Regions from separate parts of the Homo sapiens genome. Here region 1 is linked to region 2. The links are contacts of gene promoters, found by promoter capture Hi-C in human tissues and cell types (Jung and others, 2019). All regions are on one chromosome and are shown on one strand. The core of a region is centred on a gene start or on the middle of the fragment in contact, and the rest is flanking DNA. Distances in the headings are between cores, read along the strand shown.

The links. Contacts are between HindIII fragments. The study calls those that stand out against the background at their distance.
Region 1: a fragment that was not itself captured here is called in contact with the fragment with the promoter of DKK1 in region 2 in 1 of the 25 tissues and cell types used here (dorsolateral prefrontal cortex).

Annotation. Positions count from the first base shown.
Region 1 is chr10:51,029,565-51,034,955 of GRCh38, reverse strand. It overlaps a transcript of PRKG1 not described here. Among named protein-coding and RNA genes, the nearest start is that of PRKG1, 42 kb to the left of the region's middle. The HindIII fragment of the contact is 3,502 bases long and covers 1-3,142 here.
Region 2 is chr10:52,312,079-52,317,380 of GRCh38, reverse strand. It overlaps DKK1 (dickkopf Wnt signaling pathway inhibitor 1), which reads right to left and starts at 3,100. Exons shown (of 4, transcript NM_012242.4): 1 at 2,704-3,100; 2 at 2,296-2,458; 3 at 946-1,086; 4 at 1-827. The coding sequence starts at 2,946. The coding sequence ends at 574. PRKG1-AS1 (PRKG1 antisense RNA 1) reads left to right here and starts at 3,253. Exons shown (of 6, transcript NR_038277.1): 1 at 3,253-3,747; 2 at 3,896-3,983. The HindIII fragment of the contact is 6,920 bases long and covers 56-5,302 here.

The DNA of each region.
Region 1 (5,391 bases), core at 142-2,641, 1.3 Mb after region 2:
AAGGTTAATGTTCTCAGCACCTTAGCACAGGCCTGAGACATGTGAAGCCTCAATAAGTAATTTGCTAAATGAATGATCCAGAAAGCAGGTTCATTTTTGAAGCTTCCCACTCCCAATATCAGTCTTTTGTCCTACTGTTTTCTAACTTTTTCTAAAAATTAGGTACAGAATGGGGAAAGATTTAACTAATAGTTTCAATATATTTTTTTCTGAATTTTCTACAGCAATTTTACCGTAATTTTTAAGGCATATATATATATATATATATATATATATATATATATATAAATAACATATTATATATAATTTTGCTTATTTGATTGTTTAGGGCAAAAAAGTTGTGAATTCTAAGTATAAATTCCTCTATTTAGTGTATACAGCAATTAGAATATTTTTTGAGTTGGGATAAATTTAATTGGAGAATTATGACAAGTCAATTTTATGAATTTTGGACAAAACTAAATTGCCATTGAAAGACTGTAAAAATTAAGGTTTTTATGAAAAATAGACATGGATAATTTTATGTTTCTAGAAATGGCAGAATTGCTGACACACACTGTGAAGTGCATGATAATATTCTGTCTGTCTCACAGATTAATGGAAATTACCAACAAACTACTTATTATTCATTGCCTGAGGAATAAAGATATCAACTCACTTCCACTAGTTCCTGTCCTGATGCACTCTTCAACTACAGCTCAAAAACTGAGCAAGGATCACATTTTTAAACTCAGATGAAAAAGCAATTAAAGTATAGAGAAATACATTGTGAGTCTTAATCTCTAAGTTCATGAAGAGTGCTTGCCACCTAATAAAAATATTTAAAGCAAATTAATAACTGTAATGTCCAAATGTGATTTCTTACACGTTTCACTGATTAATAATTGTATCTCTTTTCTTCTATCTGAATTCTAATCATTTGAATTCTAATCATCTAGAGGCATCTCATTGTCTCTGGTGTGAGGCATGCTGTGGCCTACATAATATTCAAAGTGACTTAAAGAGAAAAGGAACCCTCAGAAGATTTAAATCTTAAAGGGACAACAGAGATAGTGAGAGGCATAAAAACAAATGAACAAACTTGAAATAAGAGCAAACACTGCAGGATATAATGCAATGGAATGCTGAAATACCATGAGTTGAGGGTATTTACTTTCTTTTTTCCTCCGTGTCCTCAATTAGCTTAGATTAAAAATGGCCTTTCTTCTGCAAACATAGCTCTCTGGATGACAGGTATTTTCCACAGTAATTTTCATCACTAATGCTTGGGAATCATACCTTTTAAGACATGTGATTTAAACATAACTCTTCACTCCGAAATGTGTCTAGAGGGCCGTGTGGTAGATACAACACATATTTATTGGATACATCCCATGTGTATAGCAGTGCCTAAATTGGCCAACCTAAATGTCATTATCCTGACATTAAGGGATGAAACTGATTCCTGTTATTCAAAGATAAGTATAAAACAAAGCAGTGTGGGAAAGGGTACATGTCCTATAGTGAGACTGACTTCAAATTGTGGCTCCATCACTTACGACTTACTAGCTGTGAGACACAGCATTTACCTTTCCTCTCCAACCTCAGTTTCCTTAGAAAGATAGATTAGGGTAATGGCTTGCCCAGTAAGCTTTCAATAAATGTCTTCTATTATTACTATTTTGAAGGGTGCCTATATCAGGAATGGAAATAAGGTGCCCTGTTGTGAGGACATGATGGGGTGGGCATTTCATACTTGAAGGAGGGAAGCACGTCCAAATGAAGATGTCCTATGAGTAACTGGACATAGGAGACTGAGGCTTAATAATCAGAACTGTAGTTATGTCTGGAGATAAGGGAATATAAGCTTTGAGAAGGATGAGCATTCTAAGACAGGGAATACAGAAAGTCATGGAAGTTAGGGGACAAGAAAAGAAGAAAAAAAGCAGAGTAGTTAGGGAAGTAATTAGAAACTGTAGTAGAAATAAGATACGTCGGCATAGAGAATGGATATCCCATTCTTCATGACATGATTATTTCACATTGCATACCTGTATCAAAACATCTCATGTACCCCCAAAATATATACATCTACTATATACCCACAATTTTTATTTTTAAAAATAAGAAATTAAAAAAAATTTCAATAAGAAAGCTTAGAATAAACACACATATGCACACATACACATACCCCAAAATAATATTTGTTTGTTTGTTTGTTTGAGACAGAGTCACCCCCCCACTGCATGTAGTGCAGTGTCGCAGTCTCAGCTCACTGCAACCTCTGCCTCCCGGGTTCAAGTGATTCTCCTGCCTCACCCTCCTGAGTAGTTGGGATTAGAAGCATGAGCCACCATTCCCAGCTAATTTTTGTATTTTTAGTAGAGACGGGGTTTTGCCATGTTGGCCAGGATGGTCTCGAACTCCTGACTTTAAGTGAACCACCTCCCTCAGCTTCCCAAAGTGCTGGGATTACAGGTGTGAGCCACCATGGCTGGCACCAAAATAATATTTGTATATTACATTGAACACATGCATTATCTTCATTGTCTGTGGAAATAAAATCTATTAAATTAAAGTTCAGAAGTTTAAAAAATCGACAAGGGCAAAAAAAAAAAGATGAAAGAGGAAATAATAATAGCAGATGAGAGTTGCCAAGAGACCTTTGGGGGTTAAAATTGGAGAAGTAGAGCTGAGACTGTCAATACTAAATACCAGCAGAGGGGTGGTGCCAATGAGCTGCAAGTCACAGATCCTCAGAGAGGCAGGAATTGGAGACAACAGGTACACATGATCCTGGCAGCCTGTTGTCTCTCTGCTGAGTTCCAAGGACACTGGCAGCTGCTTCAGGAGCCTGGAATGTTCTTCTCAGCACACACTGAACAGCTGGAAGATTTCCCAAGAAAACCTGCAGTTCCCCCCACTCAACTTCAGTGAAGCAGAACAATTTTAATGTTTTTCCTATACAGAGCATCCAACCAGCTTTGAGATAAATATGCTTCATATAAATGATATGCTATATTGCTCAATAGGCTTAACATTTCTTTAGGCTTTCTTGTTTAATTGAAAAAACACCTAAAATCACAGGTTCATTTCTTAGTTCAAGGTTTCACAGTGCATAATTTCTGCTTAACATAACTGGCATATTTCTATTCATATGATGAGATATATAATAAACTGTGATATGTTATAATCCTGCGTGAACAAGAAAAGAGCATGGGAAGGCATCAGGTGGACTTGCATTTTGACCACATACTGGTCTTGTGATCTTGGATAACTCATGTAACTTCTCTGAGCCTTAATTCTATCCATAAAATTGTGTCACAGTATTTACTTCATAGGGCTGATATGATAAAAACAAGATACTGCATGTATACAGTAAAGAGCAATATGCTTGATGCACACTGGCCACTCAATAAATACGTTTCCTTCTTCCTCATTCTTTCCCATTCACCTCCTGCCCTCTGCTCCAATCCTTGGGTCTAGATAATAAATAATATCTATTTAGAGACTCTTGGTTTAAGACCATTCTAAAGCATTTGTTGAGAAGCTGCCATCTCTTTGTCTTTCTGCTAGATTCTTTGGTCTATCGCCAAGGTCTATGAAAAGTGGCTTGTCCTCCAGAAAATTTAAATTTAGTTGAGAAAACCAACATTGTCACAAATTTAAGAGTTACAGCTTGACCTACTTTGCAAACAGGGTAAATATGCCTCTATATATGAAGGGCCTAGGAGATTAATGTTAATAACCTTTTATCCACCCTCTGTGAATTCCAATCTACCACCTAGAAATTTGTTAGACATAAGACTGAATTCTAAAGGGAAAATTTAGAAGATTCATCAATGAATACTTTTGAAAATGCAAATAGAGTCAAGATTGATCTTTTCCAGACAATATAATCTGTGAAGGTAGGAAAGCACTCAAGAAACTAGGTGACCTCTTGAGTCCTTTCTCCATAGGAATCTCTAACTAGTAAAAAAATTAAAATCAGTGAATCAAATGGGACCTTCTGAAACTGAGAGGTAGTTTTGTTAGTCCATTTTGTGTTGCCATAAAGGAATACCTGAGGCTGGGTAATTTATAAAGAAAAGAGGTTTAAATGGCTGATGGCTCTGCAGGCTGTACAAGAAGCATGGCACCAGCATCTGCTTCTGGTCAGGACTTCAGGAAGCTTTTAATCATGGTGGAAAGGCAAAGGGGAGCCGATGTATCACATGGTGAGAGAGGGGGGTTTTTCAGGCTCTTTAAACAACCCGCTCTGGCATGACCTAATAGAGCAAGAACTCATTACTGCAAGGATGGCACCAAGCCATTCATGAAGGATCCCCTCCCATGACCCAAACACCTCCCACTAAGCCCCACCTCCAAAATTGGGGATCACATTTCAACATGAGATCTGGAAGGGACAAATATCCAAACCATATCAGTAATCCATCTGAAAATTTTGCAAATATGTTTCTTTCTTTGGTTACAGAGAATGAGTTGCATCAGGAAGCACTTTCTATCAGAAAGAATTTAAGCAAATTCTAACAGACAAGTAGTCCTTTGGAAAAAAATCTGATTCTTTGATCAATTTCTTCTCTGATTTTATAATTCATTATAATTTATGTGATCCCTTAGTGTATCAGGCAAGTGAAAACGTGACAATGATTCACATATTTAGATATTTATAATTCTTTTAAATAATATAGTGCTATTTTTTGAAAAAGAAGAACTTTTCTCTGACAGTTATAAATTATAGATAATTTATCAAAAGGCTTATTATGAAAAAAAACAGTAAATATAGTCATTGGTATTTATTTGACCCTAAAGATAAATACAGTGTTCAATTTACTATTATCCAACAGCCTTTTATTGAAAATCTACTGAAGGAAGCATCATAGAAGTATACTAAAATGCATGGAATGACTTGAATTTCTGTTTCTCTAACAGTAACAATTAATAGTTGTTTGCTATTTTCTCTATCAGAAGAATATTAATTACTTTACAACATTATCCTAATTAATCTCCAAAACAGTTCTAGGAGATAGATTTAATTATTATTATTATCGCAATCATAATCTTCCCCACATGAGAACATGTGAGAAGTTATCCTACTTGCCCCAGGTTACACAGCCAGCAAATAGGGGAGCCCTGGTTTGGACGCAGGTAATCTAACTCCAGAGCACACACTCCTACATTCGTGTAATGTTTTGCACTCATATCAAAGCCACGATTTCATTTGATCCTCACAAGAAATGGATGAAATGGAAAAGGAGCTAATTTGTTCTCAAATAAGCAAACCAAGAACAAATTTAAATGACTCATCCATGGGTACAACTTGCTCATGTCAGAGTTGGGACTGGAACCTAATTTTTGAGGTCTACTGTTATTTTATTAGGACTTGTTCCCCCAGAGCTGAATCAATCCAAT
Region 2 (5,302 bases), core at 1,851-4,350:
GATATTAAATGTTAAATTTTATTTCAAAAACTATCACAGCCTAAAGGGAAATATAATTTAAGCATTAAGATAGTACATTTCAGAAAATAAGCTAGTATTTTCATGTTACATTTTAGGTACCTATCATTTGTCATTCCAAGAGATCCTTGCGTTCTAGACTCTAGAATTAAATGGGGTAAAGGGTTATGCTTTTAAGAACTATAAGCTGAAATGATTTACTTCAGTTCAATATAGAATATTTGTCAGTCAAGATAACAATCAATGTGTACAAAAATTTACATAACAAGAGGAAAAATAGGCAGTGCAGCACCTTTAGAAAAATAATTAAAAGTTTCATTGCATTTACAGGTAAGTGCCACACTGAGAATTTACAATACAGTAATTTACTGCAATCACAGGGGAGTTCCATAAAGAAACAAAGCTCTTACACTCCAGGTTTTTGGAAGGTGTTATTGGAATGCTTAACTGAAACCACAGAACTTGTATATCCTTAGGATTGAGTTGATGAAGGTCATAAAAGGTTTTCATAGCATCTATTATATAAAAGGAGTTCACTGCATTTGGATAGCTGGTTTAGTGTCTCTGACAAGTGTGAAGCCTAGAAGAATTACTGGCTTGATGGTGATCTTTCTGTATCCGGCAAGACAGACCTTCTCCACAGTAACAACGCTGGAATATTTCTAGTCCATGAGAGCCTTTTCTCCTATGCTTGGTACACACTTGACCTTCTTTCAGGACAGGTTTACAGATCTTGGACCAGAAGTGTCTAGCACAACACAATCCTGAGGCACAGTCTGATGACCGGAGACAAACAGAACCTTCTTGTCCTACGAAGGAGAAGACAGTAGGAAAAAAGTACATAGTTACTGTTAAACCTGCATCGTTTCACTAAAATAATTCAAAAGACACTTCTGATGTGCTAAGAATGAGTCTTAACATCCTTACCTTTGGTGTGATACATTTTTGAAGACAAGGTGGTTCTTCTGGAATACCCATCCAAGGTGCTATGATCATTACCAAAGCTTTCAGTGATGGTTTCCTCAATTTCTCCTCGGAAATGATTTTGATCAGAAGACACACATATTCCTAAGGAAGCAGGAAATAGTGATTAACTTCAGGGTTGTAATGCATTACTGCTAACAGCTGTGACAGTGGCAGTCTGTTATGCCAGCATCAACTTGAGATACTTCATTGCAGTGACATCATTTTAAACACAAGCCAAACTTCCTCTTTACTGTTAATGCAAAACTCTCCAGATGGACAGAAGCACCAATGTGTATACTGTATACAGTCAGTCATAGGTAATATCCCCAGTATAGCCATTTAAAATACTTTCCCACCAACTGTGGTAGGGGCAAGTGAGATTTCTGCCCATTTTAATATTACCTTTGGGGTAAGAAAAAGAAACTCAGTCACTTTAAAAATGTTCTTAAAAATAACTTCTCTGCCCCTGGTGCTATATGGGTCCTACCAGACTAAGTTAAGCAAATGCAATTCCAGCTGCCTGGAACATTGCAATCTCACCGGCCAGTTACTTTACTGTGTAATTTCTATATTACAGAGATTTACTTAGTTCATCCTGGAGTACTGCTGGGTCCTAAGGAGGGTCGTCGCCCTGTTAGCTTATTTCTGGAGACCTCTTTAGCTGTCTAAATCCACCTTTTGAAAAATTAAAAGTTAGTGGATCTGTGGTTGGGGGGAGGAGTACTTATATTAAGGCAGCAGAGGGTAGAGGGAGGGGGAAGGATGGAGAAGTCAAGTTGTGAGGGTACCAAGATCTCTCTTAAAAATGGCCAATGCAGATAAATCAGTCCTCTGGCTGACAACAGTTTCAGCAAAAATCAGAAGGCGAGGCCAGTCTGGCAAAACTGTGAGAATCACAATAAGAAAAATGAAAAGGACAGCTGAACGCCAAAGCTGGTTTCTTTGATATCTGTATGATCCCATCGTCCTCCTCATCATCCCCCTTCTCAATTGACCTCAAGGTTCTCCCCAGACAAATTTTTATGGAAGAGTCCACTACGAGGTGAACCGTTGTATTGAATCATTGAGGGACACGGAGGAAGATAAGGACCTCAGAGACCTCCCAACTTCTCTCTTCTTCCCGATTAAACACTTGCAATGAAGATACTTCAGCGGAATCCTGCATGCTGAACACCCATTTGCAGGTGGCGCCGCAGTGTTCTCAGGGCGGAGATTTCTCCCCCCACCCCCCCCAACCCCCCGCCCCCGCCCAATTCATAGACGCTCAAAGGCTGGACAGTTTTAGTGTGAAAGGGAGCTTTCAGGACTCACCATTTTTGCAGTAATTCCCGGGGCAGCACATAGCGTGACGCATGCAGCGTTTTCGGCGCTTCCTGCAGGCGAGACAGATTTGCACGCCTGCGTCCCCTCCGCGGGTGGGACTAGCGCAGTACTCATCAGTGCCGCACTCCTCGTCCTCTGCGCACGGGTACGGCTGTGGGAAGGGTTCGGGGAGAGGGTGAGGCACCCAGACGTCCAGGTACCCGCCCTCTTGGACCCGGGCGCTGATCACAGTCCTTATCTGTCCACCTCTCCAAAACCTGTTACTGCCCACTGCTCCCAAATGCAGGGTTACCAAATGCTCCCTGAACCGCACACATTCAGCACGTTCTACTCCCTCGTCTCCAGATAGGACCCTTTCAAGGTCAGAGCATCCTCTGAGTGCCCGACCCCTCTCACCTGGTAGTTGTCAATGGTCTGGTACTTATTCCCGCCCGGGTACAGGATTCCCGGCGCGGCGCTGACTGCAGAGCCTGGGTGCCCCGCAGCGCCGCCCAGCGGTGGGGGCAGGTTCTTGATAGCGTTGGAATTGAGAACCGAGTTCAAGGTGGCGCTCACTCCCAGCAGAGGGTGGCCGCCGAGAGCCGCCGCTACCATCGCGACAAAGACCCGGGTAGCTCCCGCTGCGCCCAGAGCCATCATCTCAGAAGGACTCAAGAGGGAGAAAGAAAGAGAAAATGACCGTCACTTTGCAAGCCTGGGTCCCCACGAAACCGTGCCGGTTCGGCTGCAGAGTCAGGGTCCGGGAGCCCCCTGCGGTCCCAGAGTCCTGACTGCAGGGAGCACAGAGCTCTGCGCCGCCACCGCCACCGCGGCTGCCTTTATACCGCGGGCCCGGAGCATTCCGGCCCCTTGGGAGGGAGACAACAAAGCCGGGATGGGATTTCAAAGCGCTGGGAGGGGCTGGGAGGGGGTGTGTTTGTGTACATGAAGGGGGGCCTTTGACACTCTTCACCCCGCCCCTCCCTTGCTTAGTCGCTCGGCTGGCCCGGCTCACCTTCGGGGTGAAGGCTACCAGCGAGCGTTATAGCAGACGACTTTAATAAATGCAGGCGGCAGCAGGAACTCTGGGAACTTGGGTGCCCTTGCCTGGCAGTAAGGGTTGAATTATCCGGATCTGAAATACTTTACAGAGCCGAGGGGTGATAGGCTCTGCAAAAGCACTTTTTGCCCCTCTCCTTTATGCCAATACTCGCTGACTGTGCACACAAGTCATATTCAGTATTAAATACAAACCGGTCTGTAATTCAATGGCTCTAGCAAGACGCCTCTGAGAGGGCCAGGTGGCGGGTGCAAGTTGCTCATTAACCCTTTAGAGTCGCAGTTTGCAGATCTGAGTTAGATCCCCGGCTTTGAGGTCCTTCAGTTGCCCTCCTCCCCCACCTCCCCCCGCCACTGCGAGAAAAATGTGCAAAGAGAAGGAAATTTGCACATCAAACGAGGGTAAGAAGGAAGAAGAGCTAATTCTCTTTTGATGGGAAGTTTAGAGAGGGAGGCGAGAGACTGGCGTTTAGAAATTAGATCAGGGGTGGAGGGAAGAGGGAAATGACCATCCGATAATCAAACCATTTAATGTTGTTCTTTGAATCAGGGCAATCGCGGCGGTAGATGAACTTGATTAGGCAGACGCGTGAGATCAAAGTGGCCGGGACCAAAGCGGACAGGGTCCAACGTGCCAGGTCAGTCGCCTTTCCCCGGTTCTCCCTTCTCAGTGGTGGGCTAATGTGGAGAAATAAGAAACCCTTAGGGCTTAGCGCCTGACTTCCTCATTAGTATATCACATCGCAACGCTTCCGAATGCAGGGTTTGCTCCCAAGTCTTACCTTGCACGGGACCACGCAATACCCTTTCTAGGGAGAAAAGAAACAACCTTGAGGAGAAGAAGAGCTGAAAGTGAATTAGAAAGTGAATTTGACGTCATTGAAATTGGTGTGTGGATATAATAAAGTAAGGCTGGTGTATAAGAATGATGTCATGCTTATAAATGGGAAATGATCTATTTAATTCAACAAAAACTTATTGGAAGCCTAGAGCCCTGGCATTGGGCTGCCCTCTGGGTTGTTACCTTATTTTTATTTTTTAAATTTTTTGGTGAGATGGGTGGTGGGGGGAGGGGCACAGTGAATACAAATATTTATGAGACACAGCTCTCATTTTAAATAATAAAGTTCTCTTTATTCTAATTACAGTAATAATAAAAGATGTAGTAACAATAAAATTATAGCAATAAATATAAAAGCATACATAATTCTTTTAAAAACAGGTTGATATTATAAGTGTCAGAAAATAAGCAACTGTTTTGTGAGTTTGGAAAAGGGAGAGATGATTGAATAATCACTATTGAATTAAAAAAGAGTAAGATATATTTATTTTGTCTTCCTCTAAGCTGTATAGATTTAGGCTGTCTATAATGACTCCACATGCTGACCTACTATAGTCAGAACTGGGGCCACCACCAAGTAAAGCCAGTGACAATCTTAAAGTAAAAAAATCCTAAAGTTTACTGGGAGAAGGAGTAATTAAAACACAATTTACTATGGTCTGTGTTCTAGTTCCTTCAGTTTCAAAGGTAATATTAAGAAGATCATCTAAACAATTCTTGAATGGTACCCTAGTTATATTAGTGTCCTTCCCATCCCAAATTCCATCTGTCCAGGAAATTATCCTGTCAGGAATCAATGCGTTAAGCACCTTCAGTGTACTAGGAAATCTGCAAGCTGTGTTAAGTTTGAATGACTTTGAAACGTAGAGAAAAATCCGCCTGCCAATCAGAAGGTTGAAAATGTTTCTTTTTAGTCCTATTAACCTGTTTAAATATTTTGAATCTAGAAATATATTTGTGCCACACTAAAGGCCAATCTCTTGCCTTTTTTTCTGAAGAGATAGTATATGATTAATACATTTAATGAACTTGGTTCATTAAAAGCTTGGCTTCACAAAAAAAATCCATTGCCTGGGGCAAAAGAAGAGAAAGTGGAACAATTTAATCAACAAAAGG